5 separate regions of the Homo sapiens genome follow, and regions 1, 2, 3 and 4 are each linked to region 5. The links are contacts of gene promoters, found by promoter capture Hi-C in blood cells and fetal thymus (Javierre and others, 2016). All regions are on one chromosome and are shown on one strand. Each heading gives the region's core, a stretch centred on a gene start or on the middle of the fragment in contact. The rest is flanking DNA. Distances are from core to core; before and after follow the strand shown.

The links. The method cuts DNA at HindIII sites, captures the fragments that hold promoters and counts their contacts. A CHiCAGO score of 5 or more calls a contact.
Region 1: a contact is called between a fragment that was not itself captured here and the fragment with the promoter of TSPAN3 in region 5, in 7 of 17 cell types (naive B cells, M0 macrophages, naive CD8 T cells and 4 more). The highest score is 7.2, in naive B cells.
Region 2: a fragment that was not itself captured here is called in contact with the fragment with the promoter of TSPAN3 in region 5 in 4 of 17 cell types (naive CD4 T cells, activated CD4 T cells, naive CD8 T cells and 1 more); the score reaches 7.2 in naive CD4 T cells.
Region 3: a fragment that was not itself captured here is called in contact with the fragment with the promoter of TSPAN3 in region 5 in 5 of 17 cell types (naive CD8 T cells, naive CD4 T cells, total CD8 T cells and 2 more); the score reaches 7.1 in naive CD8 T cells.
Region 4: a fragment that was not itself captured here is called in contact with the fragment with the promoter of TSPAN3 in region 5 in 1 of 17 cell types (total CD8 T cells); the score reaches 5.4 in total CD8 T cells.

Annotation. Positions count from the first base shown.
Region 1 is chr15:77,502,706-77,505,405 of GRCh38, forward strand. It overlaps a transcript of HMG20A not described here. Among named protein-coding and RNA genes, the nearest start is that of HMG20A, 83 kb to the left of the region's middle. The HindIII fragment of the contact is 1,107 bases long and covers 781-1,887 here.
Region 2 is chr15:77,481,017-77,483,716 of GRCh38, forward strand. It overlaps HMG20A (high mobility group 20A), which reads left to right. Exons shown (of 10, transcript NM_001304504.2): 10 at 1,954-2,700. Among named protein-coding and RNA genes, the nearest start is that of HMG20A, 61 kb to the left of the region's middle. The HindIII fragment of the contact is 1,601 bases long and covers 565-2,165 here.
Region 3 is chr15:77,456,751-77,459,450 of GRCh38, forward strand. HMG20A (high mobility group 20A) reads left to right here. Exons shown (of 10, transcript NM_001304504.2): 2 at 1,654-1,746. The coding sequence starts at 1,658. Among named protein-coding and RNA genes, the nearest start is that of HMG20A, 37 kb to the left of the region's middle. The HindIII fragment of the contact is 878 bases long and covers 918-1,795 here.
Region 4 is chr15:77,440,578-77,443,277 of GRCh38, forward strand. The region is part of intron 1 of HMG20A (high mobility group 20A); the gene reads left to right. Among named protein-coding and RNA genes, the nearest start is that of HMG20A, 21 kb to the left of the region's middle. The HindIII fragment of the contact is 191 bases long and covers 1,308-1,498 here.
Region 5 is chr15:77,069,732-77,072,440 of GRCh38, forward strand. TSPAN3 (tetraspanin 3) reads right to left here and starts at 1,378. Exons shown (of 7, transcript NM_005724.6): 1 at 1,161-1,378. The coding sequence starts at 1,223. RefSeq lists a silencer at 845-1,544 and an enhancer at 1,685-1,744. The HindIII fragment of the contact is 12,417 bases long and covers 242-2,709 here.

The DNA of each region.
Region 1 (2,700 bases), core at 84-2,583, 430 kb after region 5:
ACCTGTAATCCCAGCACTTCGAGAGGCCAAGGCAAGAGGATCACTTGAGGCCAGGAGTTTGAGACCAGCATGGGCAACATAGTGAGACCCTGTCTCTACAAAAAATAAAAAAAAATTAGCCAGGCGTGATGGCATGCCCCTGGAGTCCCAGCTACTCAGGAAGCTGAGGTGGGAGGATCATTTGAGCCCAGGAGTTCAAGGTTGCAGTGAGCTAGGATCCCACTGGACTCCAGGCTAGGCAACAGAGTGAAGCCCTGTCGCAAAAACAAAAGCAAAACGAACAACAAAAAAATCAGTGTTGATGTACTCCTTTCTGAGTGGTTTCATCTTTCCTGACAATCCCCTATTTAACTCTGAAAAACAGCCATCTACTTATTTGCTTAGGTATTCTTTTTTAAGGAAGATGCAACTTCTATCCAGCCTCCCTCCAGTTCATCCCCATGAAGTGCTGAAGACAAAGCATAGATAGATAAGTTGCAAGAACAACTTTACACAACTGCTAGAGCTTATGGGGAGAGGGGGCAGTGAGATGGAACTGGGCTGGACTCCAGTCCCAGCTCAGTCACTGATAGCAAAATCTGGTATCAAAACCATCAGTTTTGCTATTTCACCTGTCCTTCCTCAGTTTCATCATCTGTAAAATTGTTGACTGAAAGTTGAATGTCTGCTCAATCAAAGGAGTCCCTCAAATCCTTTCCAGCTCCAAAACCTGAGGATCCTGTTTTTCCTGTAAGCCCTCAGGGTGGTGAAAATTCCCAAGCTTACCTCCTGAAAGAGGCAAGCTTGTCAACCCTAGCTGACCCCACTTGAGCCCTCTCCTCAGGAGATGCTCTCTGATGCTTATTCCTTATGTAAGCAGTGCAGCCACCCTAGGGGAGAGGCATTATATTCCCACTTGGCAGACCCAGAAAATGAGACCCAAAGAGGAGAAGTGATTTGCCCGAGCAGGAGAGCATGTCACACGATTCTAGGGGTGCTGCTCACACCCTGGTCAGTGGTGCTCCCTCGGATCGTAATACACCAGCGATTCTCCAACTTGGGTCTTTAAATCACCAGAGGATCTCGTTAAAACAGATTTTGATTCAGTCACTCTGGGGTAGGGCCCAAGAGTCTGTATTTCTAACAAGCTCGCCTGTGATATGTATGCTCCCGGTCTCTGGATCCCACTTTGAATAGCGAGGTAGTGCACAACCTGTACAGCTGCACATGGCAGCTGTACACACAGCTCAAAAGCAGCACAGCGGGGACTTAAATTTAGGTCTTTGGACTCAAAGTCCAGTGTCCTCTATGCTGAGCCAGAATTTTGCAAAAAGCACCTCTACTCTGGGCATATGAGTGCCTGGGGATCTGGAGGAGATTTGATAGGGAAAAAAATATCTTTAGTAAAAGAGAAACAAAGTCCTGCCTTTGCTGACCAAGAGTCCTCAGCCGAGGCCTTCTGGGGCAGGCATAGATAGATGTCTGCATAAGTGGGGAGCCCTGTGGGAACAAGAGGAAATCAAGGGACCCCACACCTAGCCTAGTGGCAACCTGGGGTCCAGAGGAAGGAGGAAAGGCAGCTGGGCTCTTTGTCTGCCGCTCCCAGAGTGGCTAATGAGCAGGGCGTTCTTCCTTGCAGGTGCTGAGAAGTGGGATGAGGCTTGTAAGGAGACAGAGTACCAAGCTGCAGTCTGGGAGGCCTTAATTCCTAGAGTTCTCCCTGCCACAGCTGAGCTGGCTCAGGGCCCATTTCTGTTTGCTTGGAACAGTCTGACATTTTGTAAGGAACCCTTTGCGCGGGGTGCGCCTTCTGGCCTCTCAAGGGTAATTGCCCAAGAGAAGCAGGTGCTCCCCGCTGGGGCTGGAGTTTCCGTTGGGGAAATCAACCTGACATAATGTACTGGGGAAAGCTTTGTACACTATAGAGAGCTATGCAAATACCAGCAGTCCTGGGGTGGAAGGAGGGCCTGCAGCAAGGGGCAGCACTGGAGGACCGCTGGAGGGGCAGCGCTGAAAGATGGGCTTCTGTTGGAGATGCCTGTGAGGCCTTGGGGGAAGTTGGCAGCAGAGAACTGGGCGTTACAAATGGGGGGATGCAAAGGGCAGTGAGCTTGCAGGTGGGAAACTGGGCTTCAGTGCTGGCCCCGCCACTCACCAACTTCAGATAAGTTTCTACAGTACTCTGAGGCTCCATCATCTCCTGTGTCTATGAGGCAATGAAGCAATAGGGGCCATGACATGTCTGCTGTATTATTGTGGGATTTTAGCGTCCTTGGGGGTGCCTGGCACAGTGTATGTTAGTTGACTCACTGAGGTTCGGGGTCATATGTGGCAGACCCCTGAGCACTGAACAGGGGATGTGAACACCTGTTTGGACACAGAATCCTGGACTGGCCTTGATCAAACGCCTTCCTCTCTTGAGGCCTTGGTTTCCCCCATGTGAATAGGAGGAAGAAGTGGAGTGACTGCCCACAAGTGCCCTTCCAGCCCTGGACCTGTGCTCCAGATGGCTGCACGTCCTGGCCAGCAATGCATGAGTTGGGACGTCCACTCTGAGGCTTTGCCTCATCGACAAGGCTGAAGCAGGCAGAGATTTCCAGGTTCGAGGTAAAGGGCCTCAGCCTCAGCTTGGGCAGCTTCCCAGAGCTGATGCAGCTCAGACACATCTTTCCTAGGACATCTTCTTCAGTCAGGGGACTCAGGATGGCCCAGTCACCAGAT
Region 2 (2,700 bases), core at 115-2,614, 410 kb after region 5:
TCTTTATTTGTCCTGTGAGTACATGAGCACACTCATATACATAATTTATATTCTGGTTTGGTTTGGACTTTGAGCAACATATATAAAGATAAATGCCTAGTAAAGACAAAGGCAGAAGTCTTTATACTTCTTGGTGATGCCCTTGGATGGTAACTGTACAAGGCAATGCATTATATTTTAGCCTCAGCCATGCTCTGATGGGGAAAGGATTACTATCCTTCTAGGGAGTAGCCAGATGGAATGGACTGTACTTCTTAGAGATGGCTGGACTCCCTGCAGAATAAAGAAGTGGCATTACTGCTGCTGCTTATGAAGGGAACAGCTTGTAAATCTAGGCCTGGGATATTCAGGAGCTCATCATCCTTCCCATTTTCGTACAGTGTTTTCAATTAGCACTCTTGTAGGCTTGAAAAGTGAGAGCTGGGAGAAACAGTGTGGAAGATTGTGAAAGAAAACATTAATTGATAACATCGTGTCTCTTCACATAGATACAGGGCAGCTAATTAAGTATTGACCCAAAAGTGGTTTTCCATTTTGAGCATTTTGCCAGTAAGACTCTCCTAAAGCTTTTTTCATCTCAAGAGTATAAACTATATTATTTGTTTTCTGATGAGTCTTTGAAAACTTAGAATATTACTATTATCCTTGATTTTAACCTACAAATATTTTGCCCCTGAAAAAATAGCTAAAAGTGTGAACTGTTATATTACTACAGATTCTTACAGTCTAGCCATGCAAACATAACTAACAATAGATGGTTCCCCACACCCCCAAAACTGTCAAAGGAAACAATTACAAAGACTGTGATTAATACTGGTTTGGCCTCATTATACAAATATGTACAGACAGCGAGGCTGATGTCCCCAGCACTCATGATGCAATTAATTACTCTGACAAGAGTTTGGCAAAGTTTTCATCCACTGTCAGGAGCCAGTGAGTGAAGGGAAGCTAATGGTCTACAAGTTTCAGAGGAGCATATTAGGGACCTTTAGAAATCTAACATTTTATATATGAAGAAACTGAATCCCAGAGAGGAGAAACATCTTGCTTGAAAATATCTGCGTAGATGAGTACAGAATCCAAGACTAGAACCACAGATATCTAAACTCTCTCATTCACTGGGTTTCTAAAACATTGCTCTAAGGAAGAGGTGGATGGGGGAAGGGGAAAGCACTAAAAAATCCTGAAATAGAGCATTAAGATACATAGGAAGTAAACAGATAAAAATTGTAATCCAGGAATTATAATGTTATAGAATTTTAGCTCATTTTAAAATTATTTTGATAAATATACAGTGGAAGAATTACCCTACCTGTCTGTCACCTTTCTTGTAGCTGAGTAGTACCTAGAGACAAGTGGAGCTAGGAGGAGGCCATGAGGGTGATTTTAAGTTGAAAGGTGACTACCTTATATAAACTATTAAAATGCATATGTTGCCTGATTTCAATGATAATATTTGGCTGTTTGAGTTTAGGGAAAAAAAATCTTATGTGACTGTATTTTTATTAATATGAGAAATGTTCTTGATTATATGCACATAATACATCTCTATACATGCAGATATCCTTAGTTAACACTTGAAGAAAATTGGTTTTGATTGACCATACATTCTTCAGACTAAAGTAGGGTACTCATTTTCCCTCCTCAGGTTTGTCCCTGATAGTTGCTTTTCTGTGTTTAGCTGATGATTTTCCTACCTCCCATTGTTGCTGAACTGGAACAGGGCCATGTTTCTCATTGAAATGTTATGTAAAACATCTCAATGAGGTTGCCTGCTTACAGCTTTATGAGTTCTTCAGTTTACATACACCCTGCACTCACTTTAACGCTTATGAAACCAAAGCATTTTTAAAATCCATAGCGCTAACCCCTTCCATTCAATACTTACTTTCTTGGTGTTATTTTCCTTGTTTGTTTTTGTTTTTGTTTTGTTTTGTTTTCCTGATTCTACAGGTCTTAGAACTCCAAGATGTTCCATAAGTGTTTTTACTTGTGAGGAATGAGAAGCCATCCATGGAAATTTGAACTGAGTGGGGGCAGAGAAAGAGTGCAGATCCCTTTGCTTGTGAAAGAATTATCAGTGAGTGAAAGGCCATCACCCCAGGAAGCCAAATGAGGGAGCAGCAACATGTATATGAGCTTCCTATGGAATTGTCCTTATGTGAAGCTTTGAAGGTGTACAGCCACTCTCCCGGGTCTTCAGGTTCCTACCATTTCCATTTCTGTTAAAGTGGATCTGCATATCTTCAGCTTACTAGGTGACCCGGATGCTGACATCTGCTGCTGCAGAAAGGAAGACTTTTCATTGTAATTTCGCTTAGACCCTTTTATCAGTGGAGCTCCAGTTTTCTTACCTAGCTGTCACTTTTTTAAATGCCTCTGGGGGTTATTTTTGCTTTCCTTGGCCCCCACCAATTTATACATCTCCATTTTCTGACCTCTGGACTAACTGGTTGCTCAGCAAGGTTCTGAAGGAGAGTTTCTTGCATTGGACAGGCCCAGTCTTCTCCCATCATTGCCCTGCTGTGACTCCAAAGAAAGGAGCTTCTTGCTGACAGTGCCCTGTGGAGCAAGGCTGTGTTTCCTACCCCACACGGTGCTCAGTGGGTGCCAGCCCTCAGTGTGGCTTTGTGATTGCTGCCCTAAAGGAGAATGCTCTTTCCTTCCTCACTGGTACTGCCTGCTGTTTTCTAAGCATTG
Region 3 (2,700 bases), core at 107-2,606, 390 kb after region 5:
TCTTTTGGTAAAATGAACATTGACATTGGTGTGAGGTGATGTTAGCAGCCCAGGCTTTAATCTCGCCTTTGTATTGTATAATGTGAATTAAAACTTAAGTACACTTGAGTCAGGGTTATTCAGTAAAACATGTGGAATGGAATTTTGTGGTATTTATTAGAGCTATTCCACTTGTAAACACCTTATCTTGAAGGAACTGAAAAGAGGTTGCAAGCATTCCTGCAGTAGAATAAAGTGCTTATGATGGTTGAGTGAGAAGTTCCTCTCTACCTTCCATGCTCTACCTACTGTAATGGGTAATATTTGTACAGAGATGTGTTTTTCCCATCAAGCTGTTTATGGAACTTGGCCTGCTAAATAATAAACTTAGAAGTGAGAATAAGTAAGAATAAGGAATAAAACATCAGTGTTATCTTTTGGAAATAAATCACTCCATTGAACATGGAGAATGTGGTCCTCGTGTCATCGGCATTTTCTTCATATTTCCACCTCAGTGGAGTGATCCTGGCTCTGCTTTGCCGCTGTGCTTTCCTTTTAATTGCTGTTTCACCAGGTCTCCTTAGCAGCAGCAGCGCCTGAAATAACTCCTGAGGAAGCTCCTAAGTGAATTCTCATAATTTGCTTCTCAATTCTCCCAATTGATTGAGGCACTCTTTCTTGAGTGCTTTGCAGTTCTGTGTAAGTGGCTGATGTTTGGGGTCACTGCTGAATGTTTTGTTTGAATATCCCTTTCATGATGAAGGGAAGACTGCTGCTTTTAACTACATGGGGTGATGCCCTTTGTGGTAAGCCTTGAAAGGCAAAAATCGTTTTTCATAGTGATATGCCAAATGAAATTATTCTCTTTGTCACTTTGTCCTTTTATCCTTTCAGTCTGATAACCTCAGTTCTTGTGATTTGTTTGTTTTCTTCAATTAAGCTTAGTTGTTTCCTGTACCCAGGTGCATGCTATTTCTGCTCTTGGTTATGATGGTGTGTGGAGCATATTTCTGACCTGGAAGTGTGGTTTCTTTGACTGAGAGCCACATCAGCATGCCTTCCATCCTCTACTTCCTTTGCATTATTTCCTTTTGGAGGGCTCAGTTTGCCATCATTTAATCTATAGATGATTCATCTGGGACTGAGAACTGGTAATGCTGTAATAACAATATCTTTCTTTATATAATACTCAATGCACTTACTACCTTAGATTTTCTCTGTTTATGGAGCACTTTCATTTTAATCTCTCACAATAACCCTTTGGGTTAAGTCAGCAATTTTGTCTTAGTCTAAGATGGTGAAATTGTAGCTCAAAGAGCTTAAATAGCTTGCTCAGAGTGGCAGTGCTTCTGAGTTACCCTGCTTAACAATTTCTACAGGAAATGAATACTTTTGAAGATACTCTGGATAAATAAAAAGGAATTTTCCAAACCACATCCCATTTGTTAAAACCTAACTTGTTTTCAGTCTGGTCAGTTGATAAGACCAAGGTTAAAAGGCCCATTTACCATACAGTTTAAATTGATGTGTCCAAGTCAAGAAAATAAATATTTAGGTCAGTTTTTATTCTGTTGCTTATATGATAAAGTTCAAGAAGGCTGGCTCTTAAATTAGTGGAACTTGAAATGGAAGTAATTAAGCCATTAATTTTTTTTTATTCTCTTTTCCTTTCAGAGAGATGGAAAACTTGATGACTAGCTCCACCCTACCGCCCCTTTTTGCAGATGAAGACGGTTCCAAGGAGAGTAATGATCTGGCTACCACTGGGTAAGCAGCTGCTTTAGGACACTGGACTTCTCCATAGGCCTCAAAACAAAGCTTCTAGCAAAGTAAGAGGTCCTAAAGAGGCAGTTTTATATCATAAGAATAGACGGTGCACTTGTTTCACTTTGCAAAGAGAGTGACAGCCATCATAAACCACTTTGTAATCTGCATTCAATTATCTTTTGCAGTGCTCTGGTTTTTGTGAACTGGTACAACAATATGTGGAATCTAGCAAACACTGGTGACTCCAGTTAAGAAAATTATATAGTCACCATTAAGGAAATACCTGCCACAGAGCTAGCTCTAAAAAACAAATGCATTTTTTCTGTTCAAATTACCACAGATATTAAAATAGTTTTTTCCCAAAGATCAGATTTTTTAATGTGGTTCTTTATTCAAGATGCTTAGTAACTTTAGCTGACTTCTGTTCCTTTCCCCATCCCACCCCCTTCTCCTTTCTGTGGGATCTTTTGACAAATATTTAAAGAGATATAGAAAAGGGTTAATAACAGTAGTCCACCTCTTCCCTTGAAAATCTCTGTTCCACTTGAATTTTTATCTTTTCTAGATGTTTAGAAGTTATTTGGCAAAGAGAAAGTGTGTTCACTAATAGACTGAAGTGCTAGCTAATCCCTAAGATGAATTATTTTAATATTCTTTAGAGCTGTTTAAAAAATAGGCTATACTTTGTAATTCTGTTTCCTTCCCTCACATTTATGTCTCACCTCGTTGATATCCGCCTTTGACCTCACTACTCAGATGAAAGTGTTCTCCAAGACTTTTCTAAAGGCTGCTTAGTTACTATATTCATTCAGTAAAAACTTTCTGAGTATCTGCTATGTGTCATTGTTCCAGGCATTAGATAGAAAGCATTGATCAAAATAGATAAAAATCATAGGCCTTTTAAAGTTCAAATTCTACTTGTTGAGTCAGACAATAAACAGGATAAATAAGCAA
Region 4 (2,700 bases), core at 153-2,652, 370 kb after region 5:
CAACATGGGGCTATGCTATTTGTGGTCACTTAGACAACCAGGCGGATGTAAACTACATTATAATATATACTTCCACAGTCACTGTATTCAGGGGAAGGAAACATGGCAAATTGCTTATAGACTCAGATTTTCTGCCCAGAAGAATCATATGTCACTCACTTTCATTGCCCATGAGTTACATGGTCCTTGTGTCTTCTCTGAGGCAGTGAGGAAGTTTCCTCTTATGTTTCTGAAAGGAGATCTAAATATTTTTGAATAGCCATAGTGACTATCACAGTAAACATTTGTAAGTTACTTAACCCCTCTGTGGATCAGTTTGTTCACTATAAAATAGGTGCTAATGATAATATCTACTTGATACGGCAGATGTGTGGATTAAGTGGTATCATACACGTATAGCTCTTAAAATAGTGCCTGGTACTTAGTAAGCAATAAATTCTTGCTGCAATTATTGCTATCATTATTGTTATTAGGCTCTTACTATATGATGACACCATACTACCTGCTTTATTTACACAGATTACTTCTTGAGATAACTTCTATATAGTATGTACTATTACTCTTCTCATTTATAGGATAAGAAAACCTTGGTTTGGAGCTTTTGACTAGCTTGCCCAAGTTCCACAGCTAATACGTAAAAGATGAGATTGGAATCTAGGCAGTCTGACTCCAGAGCCCTCAGTATAAACTGAGACTCCCTCCCAGATAGCAAATAAATATGAACAGAATTCAGAAGTGCATACCATGCTTAGAGAACTCTGTGTTTGTTTGTGTACATATATGTTTATGGTTGTGATTTTATATTGAATTTTTAATATATTCCTATTTTCTGCTAGTTTGTTAGTGTTTCTAGTTCATATAATTAAATATACTGTTTCTCAGTATTCTATGTAGTCTGACAGCTAAACAAATTTGAAGTTGATTTTGTTCTTCATGAACAGGTGAAAAAACTTGAGCCAGAGTCATTTAGTGATCCCAGAAACCAGTTAGTTGGTAGTATATCCTGAACTCAAAGTCAGATTTCCTGACTTCGATTCAGAGCTCTTCCTACTGCCTCAGGTTGTCTCCTTGTAGTTTATGCAGCATATCATCCTTTATCAAATATTTGAGATGCTTTTTGTCTCCAAATTTTGAGTGAATTTGTTGTAGAAATCACAGTTAAGCTTTTTTTCCCTCATAGCTCACATTACTACATCTTGATTGTAATTTATCAACTTTGTCTTTTAAATATTCTAATGTTACTAAACACCCAGGGCCAAATTAAATATTTGGACAGAGTTTCTAGTAAGAATAAATGCCTCCAGAGAAGCTTCTGTGGAAAAATATTGTAATGATGAGCTTGAGAGTACCAATAACTTTTCTTTTTCGTGTAAGGCAATTTAGAGTCCAATTTCTGAAGGCACAGAGATGCCAGTGGAATTAGAGATGAATCAAACACATTACATTTTAGGTTTATCTTAAGGTATATTGGCAAGAAGTAAAACAACAACTTACCAAAAGCTTGTTACTTTTCCTGCCAGTGACATAAGAATGTACATATAACAACCTCAGATATATTGTAATTTTCAGAGTTAAACCTCTTAAGGAAATGCTGAGCTCATTTTCCTGGTCTGTTTTCCCATAATTAAATGGTATTCTTGTTTGATAATTTCAGTGTATTTTCATGTAACTTATCTGGAAAGTTAATAGGACATAAATTGAGTTAGAACTTCTCAATATATTGCTATATAGTGGAGATATTCAATAAGGAAGTCACAACACTTTTTTCCCCTCAGTATCAAAATATGTCAGTTATCTGTCAAGAAAATGAACTGAATCTGTGCTGTGTGTTATTGCACTCATGGGGAAATACTGTTTTGAGGCTACATGATCCTTGTCCTGGCCTCGTGCAATTTAAAACATTAATTCTTGTGTTAAAATAAATACTGCTTTATAAAACTGACTGCAGAATTTAAGGGAATTTTTAATATAAAGCATGAGGTTTATAAATTGTGCCCTTACTCTCCCTGCTAGACATGCGTACTCTTCTCTGCCCTATAGTCCTAATTCTGATGAGAGAGAGAAAGAATATATCATTAGCAACTATCTTTAAGGCATCTTTCAGCAATAAGCTAGAAACTCCTTGTTTGTTTGTTTTTGAGATGGAGTCTTGCTCTGTCACTCAGGCTGGACTTAGAAATCCTTCTAATGGTGTTTTTCTGGAAAGGGGAGTATGGAGAGTCTGGCAAAAAGGGAATTTTAGCTCTACGTGTAGCCATATTTTTTTTACAAAAAAGAAACTAAGTATTGCATGTGAAATTAAAATTTAATTTTAAAACATCTGTGATCCTTGATGGCACTTTTCCTCTTTCTTTAAAGTAACAAAACCATACTGCTGAAGGTTGAGTTTAAAACAAAGATTGGAAAGTAATTATTCATAATTTCACCACCCTGACATAACTACTTTGAACTTTTTTTTTTTTTTTTTTTTTTTGAGACAGAATCTCGCTCTGTAACCCAGGCTGGAGTGCAGTGGTGTGATCCCTCATCACTGCAACCTCCACCTCCCAGGTTTAAGCGATTCTCCTTCCTCAGCCTCCAGAGTAGCTGGGATTATAGGCTCCTGCCACCATACCGGGCTAATTTTTGTATTTTTAGTAGAGACAGGGTTTCACCATGTTGTCCAGGCTGGTTTTGAACTCCTGACTTTAAGTGATCTGC
Region 5 (2,709 bases), core at 128-2,627:
TTTCCAGAACAGGTGTGCGTATGCGTGGGAGGGAGGAGCTGAATGGGGAGGAGGAAGAGGCACAGTATGGTTAACCGGAATGTTCAAGGAGTGCTCTGGCGACTGTGGACAGAGCAATCTGTCCAGGGCACTCAAGTGTTTAAGGAAATGACAAGTTCAGAGAGGCAAGGTGATTTGGGACCAGACTGAGGACTTCTGCTCCAAGACCAGGGGAAGGAGTTGAACCTTATTCTACCGCTGAAGCTTCTGTTTTCCTTATTTTCAGATCAAGTGATGTGATAGAGGAAACGTTTTAAAAGATTTATCCGGGTGCAAAGTCCAGATGGGCTGGAGGGTGGAGAGACGGATAGGAACAACTTAGGTTACTATAAAAGTCCCTGATGAGATAAGGACCCAAACTAAGATGACATAAACATTCCTTTCAAAGAGGGTGTACCCCTTAAAAATTCATAAGCCACCTTTTATTGAAAGTGAACTCATCACTTTCAAAATCTTGTGACATCTCCATCATATATTTAACCAAGAGTTATAATCTCACAGTTTGGTCACCCCCATGACCAAAACAAATAGACCGATGTTCTTGGTCAATGGATTATTTGGCTCCTCGAGTTGAAACCCTTCATTTTCTGGGCTGGTGACAGTCAGCCGGTTCTCCACACACAAAGGGCGTTAAGTGGAACCCCCGCCCCGGCTCCGCAGCGTCCCCGCGGATCTGCCCGCCTCGGGACGGCCACTCGTCTGCGAGGCCCCGACAAAGAGCGCGGAACCTGAGCCTCTGGCGAAGATCCTATTTCGAGCCCGACGTCCTGCTACAGTCTGCAATAAGCGCTCTCCGTCCAGCCGGCGACTCCGGGGGGGGGAGACTGGGGCGCCTGGCACGGAGCCAGCCCGCGTGGGCCGAGCGCGGAGGCGCCGGCTGGAGGCCGTGGAGTCCCTGAAGGCCTCCCCTCGCTGTCCTCCGCGCCCAGGCTCCCGGCTTGGTCCGGCAGGGACCTCGCGAAGCGGCCTCACACCCGGCCCTCCCCTCGCCTCAGCCGCCTGAGGGCCCGCGCGCGGCCCCCGCGCGCCCGCCCAGGCCCAAGCCCGGCCCCCACGGGCGCCTCCGCCGCGGCCTCGCCCGGCCCCGCCGCCGGCCCCTCGCTCTGCCCGGCCCCGCTCACCCAGAAGATGAGGTTGAGAAAGACCAGCACGGTCTTGGAGGAGGTGATGCCGCACTGGCCCATGGCGCCGGTGGCCCGCGAAGGCCCGGCCCGGAGAGCGGGGCTGCGCTCACCGAGAGAGCGGCAATGGCGGCGGCGCCTCCTCGCTAGGAACTGCACGGCCTGCGCGGCGCTCCCCGCAGCCCCTGCGCCGTCGCGCAGCCCCGACCCCAGCAAGTGCCTCGCTCCTCCGCGCAGCCGCCGCAGTCCCCTCAGGGCTCCCGCGCCGCTCCCTGGCAACCGAGTCCCGCCCCACGCGGCCGGTAGCTTCAGCCAATCGCCTCTGCGGAGGCTGCAGTGAGGCCACGCCTCTTAAAGGAGCCAAGGCCTCAGCGCCTTTTCTTGGCCTCTGGCCGCCCTTGGACGCAGATGGCTCCCTAGGGAGGTTCTGGTGGACCAAACCCACTCTCCTCCTATGACTATGCCACCCTTATAGATGATTCAGAGCCCTCTGAGTGCTATCTTTCTACCTAGCCCATTCTCCCCTAGGAAGGTTGGAGACACTAATCTCTGCCTGACCAGATTCTCCTGACCAGGTTAAAATCTTGGCAGCACTGTTGGTGAGAAGTGCAAAGAAAAACAACAAATACTTATGGAGAAACTTATTGTACCAGGCGCTGGGCTAGACCTCAGAAGAGTCAGAGAGGAGAAAAGGCTGGTGATGGCGTTAGCAAGGCAGAGACATGTTTGTGTGGGTGAGTGGTTGGGAACAAGTTCTATTCCAGGGTAGTAAGTTTTGGACCAAGATTCGCAACGATTACAGAAACATCTCTTTGCATTGCAACATTTCACATTCTTCCCCCAATCTTGAATCCGTCATAGCAATTAATTATTGGGTGCTCACCCGGTGCCAGGCTCCATTAGTTCATTTAACCCCCACCACAACCCTGGATGGAAGGCACTATGGTTATCAGCCTCATTTTACTGATCGGGTAATTGAGGCTTAGAAAGGTTAAGAAGTTCGCCCAGAGCCACACATAGTAAGTGGTCTAGTGCAAAAAACACATCATCAGTCACACAATAAACTGCCTCTGTTTGCTGTCTTTCCTGCCATTATAATCCTGCACTCCCTCCTTGACCGCGCCCGTAAGGATTTCCATTTACTGGTCTTTATCAGCTCGCTCTCATGCAATCTCCCCCACTCATCACCTTTCCCAGGCACTCTCAGAAGTACCTGTTAATCTCAGCATCCTGTGCATTTACACCAAGCAGCAGCAACAGCCATTTATTCACTCATCAAACTTGCCGCGTGTCCCCTCTGGGCCTCACTGTTGTCGGTGGTGGATATTCCACTGTGAGCAAGACGTATCCTTCCTTCCATGGCTTACATTCGTTCGGGCAGAGGAGGCAGACCATAAACAAACGGGCAAGTGGGTATATGACATGAGGTAGTGTTAGGAAACAATTCAGAGGAAAGGAATAGAGTGATGAGAGGAGTCCTCTCTGAGGAGAGAACATTGGAGGGGACCCAAGGGAGGTGAGGGGAACAGCCCAAAGATGAGAGCAGCAA